2 separate regions of the Homo sapiens genome follow, and region 1 is linked to region 2. The links are contacts of gene promoters, found by promoter capture Hi-C in blood cells and fetal thymus (Javierre and others, 2016). All regions are on one chromosome and are shown on one strand. Each heading gives the region's core, a stretch centred on a gene start or on the middle of the fragment in contact. The rest is flanking DNA. Distances are from core to core; before and after follow the strand shown. Region 1 has its middle 20 kb from the start of SNORA7B. Region 2 holds the start of RHO (rhodopsin).

What was found. Contacts are between HindIII fragments. The CHiCAGO score rates a contact against its expected background, and 5 or more counts as called.
Region 1: a contact is called between a fragment that was not itself captured here and the fragment with the promoter of RHO in region 2, in 2 of 17 cell types (endothelial precursors and M1 macrophages). The highest score is 6.7, in endothelial precursors.

What each region holds. Positions count from the first base shown.
Region 1 is chr3:129,374,880-129,380,801 of GRCh38, reverse strand. No RefSeq gene overlaps it. Among named protein-coding and RNA genes, the nearest start is that of SNORA7B, 20 kb to the left of the region's middle. The HindIII fragment of the contact is 2,110 bases long and covers 1,215-3,324 here.
Region 2 is chr3:129,525,229-129,530,687 of GRCh38, reverse strand. It overlaps RHO (rhodopsin), which reads right to left and starts at 2,049. Exons shown (of 5, transcript NM_000539.3): 1 at 1,594-2,049. The coding sequence starts at 1,954. RefSeq lists enhancers at 647-1,372, 1,373-2,098 and a silencer at 4,296-4,496. The HindIII fragment of the contact is 8,320 bases long and covers 1-3,618 here.

The DNA of each region.
Region 1 (5,922 bases), core at 1,020-3,519, 150 kb after region 2:
GCAGTGATGGGTTGTACCCGCCACCTTTGGCAGGCCCCCAGTCTATGTTTGCTGACAGAATGAATGAGTTCCTGGGAGGAAGGGGTCTGGGATGGCCTCTTCTTCCAGGGACTGAGTCCAAGAAAGGTAAGTGATTTGCTCCAAGTTACCCTGGAAACCCCTGGAAACAGGTCTCCTGCTCCCTGCCCTGGGGACAGATGCCATCCTACAAGATGGGGTTGCCTTGCTGTGAGTGCCCATGAATAGTTCCTAACGACTTCTCTTTCTTAGGTTTATAAAGGGCTTTTGGCTGTCCCCATAGTCCTGTACAGTAGATATTATTTCTCCCTGGCTACAGCCCAGGAGACCGAGACTCAGAGAGGACAACTGACCTGTCCCAGCAAATAGCTGGCAATAGCCAGAGGTGACTTGACTCCAGGTTCTGTGCCCCTTCCTGCCACGTATGTGGTCATGTGTATATGTGCATATGTGTGTACATGTTACTGGTGGAGGGTCTTGACCACAAGCCATCAGGTTCTTGGTGTTTTCAACAAAGAATTGAACAAAACACACAAAGCAGTGAAGGAATGAAGCAACAAAAGCACAGATTTATTGAAACCAAAGTACACTCCACAGAGTGACAGCAGGCTTGAGGAAGTGGCTCAAGAGCACCAGTTGCAAAATCTTCTAGGGTTTGAGTACCTTCCAGAGGTTTCCCATTGGTTACTTTGTTATACCCTACGTAAATGAAGGAATGGTCCACAACCATTGTGATTGGTTGCAGGAGGGGACCAATCAGAGGTACTTTTTTATTTTTTATCTGCTATGTAGTGCAAAGGGAGTAGCCTCTGATCCTTTTGTTACTTGGGTGTGAAGAGGTGAGGTTTTCCTTTTGATTCAGTTCTAGGAAGTCAGCATGAATCGGCCTTAGGTTCCCTCCCTCCAGACCCTATTCTCCTGCGTCATGCGGGAACAAGAACGAGTCTGAGTTTGGCCGGGACATCTTCAACAAGGAAAGGCCTTGCCCTTGTTTTAGGCCAGCCAGTGTGCTTCGGGGGCCTGCATCTCTCCTGGCTTCCTGGGCAGGAAAGAGCAGTCACCTGGGACCTCTGTGCTAATGGTTCCCAAATGTGGATGTGGAAGTGCTGTTTTCTCTGTTTGGGGTCTTTATCTTTGAAATTTCCAGTCCCATCTTTTAGTTTTAGTATTGAAGGCAAGTTTTTTCTCTTTAAGCTTGTGTAAACCAAAAGTAAAACTCTAAGCCCTCTGTGCCTCCATTGAATGAACCCCTCCCCTTGGAGAAGGGGAATTCCAAAAAACCCCTAAAAAACTAGTTCCAACCATCATGGGCATAAGGGGTCAGACTTGCCTCATTTTACCCTCCTCCCTTTAGAGTTTAGACACAATAGACCAGTATTAACAAGAAAACTGGGGTCTCAAGACTGACAAAACAGACTCTGTAGCAATGAGGCAGGATAGTACAGTCTGGAGGCAAGGAACTTAAGGCCAATTCATGCTGAATCAAGGAAAAACACCAAGGTCTGGGGGGAAGCAGGGAATCTGAGGCCAATTTGTGCTGACTTCCCAAAGCTGGATCAAAAGGGAAACACCTGGGTCTGGAGGCAGGGGCCCTAAGGCCAGTTAATGCCAACTTCCTGAAGCTAAACCGAAAGGAAAAACCCAGCTCCCCATGCCTTAGTAGCAAAGGGTCAAAGGTTACTCTTTCTACAACCCTCCCCCTTCCACCATGGCTTAGACAAAAAGGGAGAGTGGCTTGGAGTGGCCACAGGCCAAGCAGGGACCATCCCTTCATCTGCATAGGGTGCCATTCACCTCAGTGTTTACTTAGCCACAGACCAAATCCTTCAACTATATAAGGGGTAACTGATAGGAACCTCAAAAGGAGTGCTTGAAACCCAGAAAACTTTGTAACTGGGCCCTTGAGCTGCTCGGGCCCAGTCCCACCCTGTGGCGTACCTTCTCTCTTTTATAAATCCCTGATTTTGGTACTTCGATCCTGTGTTTCATTCCTTTGTTACTTAGTGCATTTTGTCCAGTTTTTTGTTCAAAACACCAAGAACCTAGACAACTTACACCCAAGGCCCTCCTTCCAGTAACAGCAATAGAACACCGTATTTCAACATGATTCTGATATACCATTGATGGCAGTGGCTGCTCCAGATCACTGTGTTTTGGACAATGAAATGTAGCCAACTGTTCAACTGTAGCTCCCAGCTGCAGCAGGGAGACGTGGCTGGGGTTGCACACTCCATGAAGCCCTTCCAAGTTGGGGTGGGAGCTCCCCAGGTGCCACTGCAGCTGCCCAAACCATTGGGTTGCAGACCTGGGCCTCCCACTCCACAGAGCAGGCAGGAGCCCTGCCCTCCGGGGCAGGGCTGTAGCTGCCCAACTTGTGGCTGCAGGTCTGAGCCTCCCTGTGCTCTTGGGAGGCCAGGAGCAAGCAGGATCCCTGCCCTCCCAGGCACAGCTGTAGCTGCCTAAACCATGGCTGCAGACTCAGGCACCCCTGCACTCTTGAGGGCCAGGAAGCATCCCTTCCCCTTGCAGGCTCAGCAGTGCCTGCTCCCATTGCCTGGCTTCTCCCTGCTGTTGTTGCCCACTCCAATCTTGGAGGAATGTTGGGGCCAAGCTCAGGTGTCATGAAGGCAGCAGGAGGCAGACAGATTCCTGGATGGAAGGGGGCCGGTCCCCAGTGAGGCCCCACCTTCAGGCCAGGGAGGGTCTGAAGGCTGGGAACCAAGGCTGCCAGTCTCATGGACTGGACTGGGAACTTGTGGTGCCTTTTCCAGGCCCACCCAAGTACCAATCAGCATACACTTTTTCCCCTCTGAGGCCCATAAAAACCCCAGGTTCAGCCAGAGCTAAGCAGACTATGGGATGACCAGCTGCAGAGAAGAGCTACCCTTTCTGCTGAGAGCTTCACAGGCCTGCAGAGATGTTGGGACTACCAGCTTCAGAGAGGAGCAACCCACTCCAGGGCTTCCTCTCTGCTAGGAGTTCGGCAGATGTCAGGACGACCAGTAGAGAGTGGAGCTACCCTCTCCAGGGGCTCCAATCTACTGAGAGCTGCAGAGACAATGAGATGAACTGCCTGCAGAGAGGAGCCACCCTCCCAGGGCCTCCTCTCTGCTGAGAGCTGAACACTCCACAGGACCACCTGCCTACAGAGAGGAGCTACCCATTGTGGGTCTCCTTATGCCCATGATGGTTGGAACTAGTTTTTTTTCATGACAGCATCATGAAACAGTAGGCCCTTAAGGAAATCAAAGTATTTTACCCCAAAATATATTTTGTTGACATATTTTGAAATGGGCCTGCAAAGCTTTCTCTTGTGTGGGAAAATTTGCATTCTGTAGAGAATCTCCTTCTCTTACTAGGTCTTTTCTGGAGAGGCTGACACTTTTTAAGGTCAGACAAGAGACATTTGCCATCTATTCTCTCTGAAGTTTGCTACCTGAAGGCTTCATCTACATGAAAAGAACCTGGGCTTGGCTGGGCACTGTGGCTGACACCTGTAGTCCCAGCACTTTGGGAGGCCGAGGTGGGTGGATCATGAGGTCAGGAGATTGACACTATCCTGGCTAACATGGTGAAACCCCATCTCTACTAAAAATATAAAAAATTAGCTGAGCATGGTGGTGGGCACCTGTAGTCCCAGCTACTCAGGAGGCTGAGGCAGGAGAATGGCATGAACCCAGGAGGTGGAGCTTGCAGTGAGCTGAAATCACACCACTGCAGTCCAGCCTGGGCGACACAGTGAGACTCCATCTCAAAAATAAAAATAATAATAATAATGTTATCATTAGGATTATCATTATTTGATTCATATTTTTACTACTCAACAAATGTTGAATGATAAACATATACATTAGGCTGGGAGTGGTGGCTCATGCCTGTAATCCCTGCACTTTGGGAGGCCGAGGCAGGTGGATCATCAGTTCAGGAGATTGAGACCATCCTGGCTAACACGGTGAAACCCCGTCTCTACTAAAAATACAAAAAATTAGCCAGGCGTGGTGGCAGGCGCCTGTAGTCCCAGCTACTCAGGAGGCTGAGGCAGGAGAATGGCATGAACCCTGGAGGCGGAGCTTGCAGTGAGCTAAGATCGCACCACTGCACTCCAGCCTGGGCAACAGAGCGAGACTCCGCCTGTAGTCCCAGCTACTTGGGAGGCTGAGGCAGGAGAATGGCATGAACCCTGGAGGCGGAGCTTGCAGTGAGCTAAGATCGCACCACTGCACTCCAGCCTGGGCAACAGAGCGAGACTCCGCCTGTAGTCCCAGCTACTTGGGAGGCTGAGGCAGGAGAATGGCGTGAACCCAGCAGGTGGAACTTGCAGTGAGCCGAGATTGTGCCACTGCACTCCAGCCTGGGCGACAGAGTGAGACTCCATCTCAAAAAACAAAAACAAAAAGAAACAAACAAACAAAAACCAAGCTGTGACCCAGCCACCTTGGGCACATGTTCTCAGGACCTCCTTAGGCTTTGTCAGGCCATGGCCCTTGACCTTAGCAAAAGAAACCTAAGGTGATGGAGACTTGTGTCAAATACTTTTTGGTTTATAGCCATTTACCCTCTGACAGCAAGACGTGGCTGCTCCCAAGAGCTTATCTTTTCCACTGTGCCATCCTTCTCACCTTCCCCTCCTTTAGCCGGGCAGCAGGCATGGGCTGGGGAACAGGTGACCTAGCTCAGCTACATCCTAGGCTTGTGACTTAGGGTAAATCCATTAACTTTTTTTTTTTTTTTTTTTTAGATGGAGTCTCACTCTGTTGCCGAGGCTGGAGTGCAGTGGCGTGATCTCAGCTCACTGCAACATCCACCTCACAGGTTCAAGCGATTCTTGTGCCTCAGCCTCCCAAGTAGCTGGGATTACAGGCATGCACCACCACGCCAGCTAATTTTTGTATTTTTAGTAGAGACAGCATTTCACTGTGTTGGCCAGGCTGGTCTCAAACTTCTGACGTCAAGTGATCAACCCACCTCGGCCTCCCAATGTGCTGGGATTACAGGTGTGAGCCACCGTGCCCAGCCTAAATCCATTAACTTCTGTTTGGATGCCCTGCCCAGCTCAGGCTACCATCGGCAAACAAGAGAGGTGCTCCAGAATTGAGGAAGCACTGGGCAAAATGCAGGCATGATCGTTAACCTCTGTAAGTGGACCCAGGTTCAGCTACATGAGCCAAACATGAAAGGTGAGGGCTGGTGGGAAGAAAAGCAGGTTTAATTGGAGAGCCGGCAAATGGAGATGTCAAACGAGCGTTCTAAAGGAGCATCTTACCTTTTCAAATTGACCATAGGGGTTTTAAAGCGAAACTTGGCATGGGAGATATGGGAATGGTGCAGGGCACAGAGTCTGTGTCTTTGTCCCCATGGCTGTCTCAGGTCATTGCTGGTCTGGAGGTCTGATTGGTGTTATTGTGACTTTGGCCCAATGGTGGTGGACTAATTGTTCATGACTCCCCCTAAGCGGGAGTATTCCACAGAGGCTCCATGCCTGGTTTGTTTCAAGATTCGCCTCTGGGGTTTCTTAAACAAGAGCATAATTAGATAAACATGCATTGCCGGAGAGGAGTGTCTACAGAGGGAAGGAATGAAGGGGTGAGAGTGGAGAGGTGAAAGAAAAACAAAGTAGGTGATTTTTAAAACTGAGGTCCCAGCAGCCAAACAACCACTGGCCTCGAGATAAGCAACATTAAAACCATTTACACTCCTCTAATGTTGACTGACTGACAACCGGCCCCATTCTACCAGCCACAGCTACGGCTTTAATTAAACAAGAGACTGATTTCAGTAACTTTCCCCTGATAAAAAGACCACCGAGCTTGCATTAGTTCTGGCCGGTCTACAAAAATCACACACTTGGATGCCTTTGTGTCCCGAAAAAACTTTTTGACATATAGGGCCTAATTGTAACACATT
Region 2 (5,459 bases), core at 800-3,299:
GAGCTGGGCAAAGAAATTCCAGGGAATGGGGGAAGTTATTTGCTTAGCGCTCTGGGCCCATAAGGGACACGAATCAGATCAGGGGGTCAGGATTGAACTGGGAACCCGGTAGGGAGTTTTGTGTGTGTGTGTGTGTGTGTGTGTGTGTGTGTGTTGTGTGTGTGTGTGTGTGTGTGTGTGTTTAGCAGAAGAATGCATCCTAATGTGGGGCAGAGTTCCTTGTTGGGAAGGAATGCAGAGGTGGTGGAAACCCAGAATTGGCAGTCCTTCCTCCCTCTCCCTTCTCGGGAAATGAAATAACCCGGACATGTGGGGGCCTCTCCTAGGAGCCATGAAGCAATGTGCAATGTTTTGCCCAGAGGAAGAAGAAGGAAATGATGGAATTCAGACATCTGTCCTGCTCACCACCCCATGAAGTTCCATAGGGAGAGTGGCCATATAGTTAATCAACCAAACTGGGACATTCCTAACAGTGAAAGGGACAATATTTGTAAACTGGGACTGACCCTGCAGAGAACAACCACCCGTAAGTGGCACACCCACCTTCTGGCCAGAACTGAGTGATCTGTGATTATTGAATGCAACAAACACCCAACAATGGCCAGAGATTCCCTGAGAATGGGACCGAGGCAGCAGCCTGGACATGGGGGAGACAGGGCAAGGCTGGCAGAGAGACGCTTGTGGCTGGCGGTAAGCTCTCCCCGTCACCCAGCTTTGCAATGGCTGCTTCTAGCGTCTCCTCCTGCATCTCAGCAGAGATATTCCTGGATCACAGCCAGGAGACCTAGGCTCTTGTTGCTGCCTGGCCACATCCCTAAATGAGTCTCTTCCCCTCTCCCTGCCTCAGTTTTCCTCTCTGTTAAGTGGGATCTGTTATCCCTGCAGCACCCCATCTGTTTTCCTGTTAAATGCAAGACATTATTCTAAAGCAAAAAGGAACTGCTTCAGAGCGGCTGCTTGCGGTTCTCAACACCAGGAGACTTGGAACGCGGCAGGGAGGCTGGAGGGGCACCTGAGGACAGGGGCTGAGAGGGGAGGCAGAGGATGCCAGAGGGGACCGAGCCCATTGCCCAGCACAGGGAAGACCCAATGACTGGAGAATGGAAAATCCACTTCCCACCCTGAGCTTGGGCCCCCAGAGAGGAGGGGTCTGGCTTGCCCAGCTCTCCCTCAGTGCCCAGCCTGGGTCTGACTCAGCACAGCTGCTCCAAGGGAAACAGAGGCTTGGTGCTGCAAACATGGCCCGAGATAGATGCGGGCTTCCAACTCAACTCTGCACCCGTCCCTGTGTGACGCCCCAGCAGGGCGCTTGACTTCTTTGAGCCTCAGCTCAGTTTTCTTGCTGTGAAATTAGACAAGCGCATATTGCTCCAAATAAGATCAAGGCAGTGTTCAGTGCCAGCCCTGCACAAACAGCAGCCCGGCTATCACCATGAATGGTGTTTGTTGACTGAATATATGAGGGCTTTGGATAACATTGACAGGACAGGAGAAGGGAGAAGGCCTCTCAGCCACCACCGCCAAGCCCGGGACTCTCCCAGACCCCTCCATGCTCCCGGGCTCCTGCACACCCCACCCACACCCGGCTCATACCGCCCAGGGTGGCAAAGAAGCCCTCCAAATTGCATCCTGTGGGCCCGAAGACGAAGTATCCATGCAGAGAGGTGTAGAGGGTGCTGGTGAAGCCACCTAGGACCATGAAGAGGTCAGCCACGGCTAGGTTGAGCAGGATGTAGTTGAGAGGCGTGCGCAGCTTCTTGTGCTGGACGGTGACGTAGAGCGTGAGGAAGTTGATGGGGAAGCCCAGCACGATCAGCAGAAACATGTAGGCGGCCAGCATGGAGAACTGCCATGGCTCAGCCAGGTAGTACTGTGGGTACTCGAAGGGGCTGCGTACCACACCCGTCGCATTGGAGAAGGGCACGTAGAAGTTAGGGCCTTCTGTGCCATTCATGGCTGTGGCCCTTGTGGCTGACCCGTGGCTGCTCCCACCCAAGAATGCTGCGAAGGCCTGAGCTCAGCCACTCAGGGCTCCAGCTGGATGACTCTGGGTTCTGACCCCCCCAGACCCTTATAAAGTGACCTCCCCCTCCTAAGCTCCTGGCTGAATCAGCATCTGGGAGATTGGGGGTGTTCATAATCATATTAATCCCCGCTGCAGAAACTGAGGGCCTAATTGGCTTCTAAGAGGGGCCAAGGTGACACTAGGAGGAAGCCTGAGGTCAGGGAGGAGAGGTACTCAGGATCCAGGAAAAGGGAGGAGAAGGTCCCCTAACTTCTGCATGACTTGTCTGTCCCAAGGTCCCAGCTCAGTCTGGTGGCCTGGGTTTGAAATAGGGACCATGGGCCTCTGTGCTATGTCCTCTGGACAGCTAGAGACTTTCTGGTTTATTCTCCCAGTCTCTCATCTCGTCACACAGCCCCTTACCTGTTCGTTCCCCCACAAGTTACCTCTGGAGTCATCCAGTCCCCACACTCCTCTGACAGGAGGAGCTCCATGAGGGCAGGGGCTGCAACCTGCAGCTTCCGTTTCTGGTGCCAGACACATAGCCTAGGGCCCAGGAGCCCAATCCTTGTTGCATGGAATTGGAATTCACTCTCTTGTTCGTTCATTAAACATTTATTTGCAGGCCCCTGGGAATACAAAGATGGAAAGAAACAGCCCTGCCCAGAGGAGCTCAGGGGCTGAGGAGGACTCAAATGTGGGAAGAAGCAGATTCCGTCCAGGGTGGCTGTGAGGTTGTGGAGACAGGGCCTGACTGCCTGGGGGTTGCAGTCTGGGAGGCCATGTTTGGGCCTTTGAGAGAAGGAGCAGTTTGCCAGGTGGCTAGGTGGGGAAGATCTGGGCTGGGGGCAGTTGTAATGGGTCTTGAACGCTAGGCCGGGGAACCTGGCTTTATCCAGAGGAAAGTGAGCAGTGGCTTGGGCAGATCACTGGTGTAGAAAGGTGACTCAAATGCCCCCAAAGATGGAGTGGAGGGAGGGAGGATGGAGGGGGCTACCAGAGCAGGGGAGGGGCAGAACCCTTCAGGGGACTCCAGTCTGAAGGGGAGGCTGGCCCTGGAGGCAGCAGACAGGGCACTGTTGGGGGAGGCCTAATCAGCCACGAGGGCCTCAAATGCCATGTACCAGGTGGCCCCACGAGGGCCGATTCCAGAATAGCAGGATGTACCGTGAGAAAGAAAGTAGTCAGAGCCTTGGGGGCAGATGACTGGGGGAAAATGGAGGCCAACACTGGCAGGTCCCCCTCTCCCCGTCGTCCAAGCAACATGATGACACCTCCCAGGAATGAAGTGGGGTGTCTGGGGCGGCCTGTGCAAGTGCTGAGAGTGCCCGACGTGCGGCCGCTCAGTGACCACTGTCCAGCCAACATGTGTATTGAGCACCTACTGTGGCCCAGACAAGGTGCTTGGTCCTTGGGGACACACAGGGTACACGAAAGAGCAAGCTCCTGCTCACAAGAAGCCAGTGTTTTTGTGGGGTGAGGGGGCACAGGGACCACAAACAAATAGAAGAGCGAATAACAGTAGGGACAGTTCAGTCGCAGCCACTCCCAACACAGGAGGCTTCTCTGAGAAGCTGGAGCTTGAGCTGAGAACGGAACAACAGGAGGAAGCTTCAGGGGAAGGACATCCAGGCGGAAGGACCCCTGAGAGTGCAAAGCCCTGATGCCTGGGAAATATCCCTTAATCTCTCTCTCACTGTCTCTCTTCCCACCCAGGATTCCCAGATCTGTCTGCTCAGAAGAGTGCCCCCTTCCCTGCAGCCCACCTGGGCTCCAGCCCCCTACCTGGCCTGGGTGGTGTTGGGTCTAACAGCGTTTGGCACACGTGGCAGGGCTAAGGCAGGGCGGGTGGGATGGGGCCTCTCGTAGTTTAAGGCGCTTGGCCTGGTGATTATGCCCAACGCTAATGAGGTTAAGGTGAGGGTTTGATTCTGACGTGGACCCTCATGGCCAGAAGGAGGGTGTCCTGGATGCCTTGGGTCAAGACTGACCCACAACTGGCCCCTCCCTGGCCGGGCTGAGCCCCCATCCCACACAGCTTAGCAGTACCTCAGCATCTTGCTTTTTGCATAGTGCTTCTGACAGCATGGAAGCTTTTTATTTGTGTTTTGTGCCCGTCTCCCTGCCTGTAACATGAGTCCACAAGGGTAAGCCTGGGTCTGTCTTGCTCACAACAGGGTTCCCAGAGACCAGCATGGTGCTTGGCCTGTAGTGGAAAGAGGTGGGATGATGTCTGTTTTGTTCACTGATGTGTCTCCAGGGCCTGGCACCTAGAAGGTGCTCCTGAATATTTGTTGAATGAACGAGTGAGTGGGGGAATGGACCTAGATGATCTCAGTACTTCCCCTCTCTGTCTCAGGTTCCTCCTTTGTGAGTTTCACAATTGCAACCTCATGGAGCCCTGGTGATGGGGAACTAACAGCCATCACTGAGGTGACAGTGCTCTTTATTCTGTAAAGCTTGACGAAGAAAAAAAAAGTTTTGAGACAAGGTCTCTGTCGCCCAGGCTGGAGTGCAGTGCCACAATCATAGCTCACTGTAGCCTCTGCCTCCTGGGCTCAAGCGATCCTCTCACCTCAGCCTCCTGAGTAGCTGGGACCACAAGTGCACACCACTAGTTTTTGTATTTTTTGTAGGGGTGGAGTCTCGCTATGTTGCCCAGGCTGGTCCTGAACTCCTGGCTCAAGCGATCCACCCTCCTCGGCCTCCCAAAGTGCCAGGATTATAGGAGTGAACCACCGTGTCCGGCCCAAGAAATTTTTTTTTAAACAAAAAATGCTCTTTGTTCAGGAAAACAGACTCATAGTGAGCTGGAAGGGTCATTCGAAGTCACCTACTCTGACCATCTCTGCTATATCCATTTTGCAGATGAAAAGACTGAGGCCTAGCTCTGCAGAGTTGCTCAGGTCCCGTTACAAATCAGTGACAGCCTGGGCTATAACCCACACAGTCAACTGGGCTTCCTGGGGTATCAGCTTCCCAAACCTGGCTATGCCTCCCTCCCCTCATCAAAGATAGCTCTCAGGAAAGACCAGCCAGCCATTCACACCATGGTATAAATGACTAAAGAAAGGTTTAGCTGGGGTAATGGAAAGGCCCTAGACTGAGTCACACAGGCCTGGCGTGGGGCAGTGGAAGCCTCGAGGAGAGGAGGCTGGATTCTAGCTGGTCTTTGAGTCACCATGGTAGTCCTGCTTCCTTCCCCTCTCTGGGCCTCAGTTTGCTCAGACGAGGAAGCCTCAGTGTGGGGTAGGGGCACACCCATCTATACAGTAAACCTCACCTGCTTTCTCCATGAGAGCCTGGTTCGTGAATCTTTAGACCCTATGGCCTTGGTTTCACTGTTCTCCCTCATTGGGCAAGGCTCTTTTCCACCCACCCTTACATCTGGACTGAGGCTACACAGCCTGGGTGCAGCCAGCTACCCCGCCCTCCCGAGAGTGTGCTTCGGTTC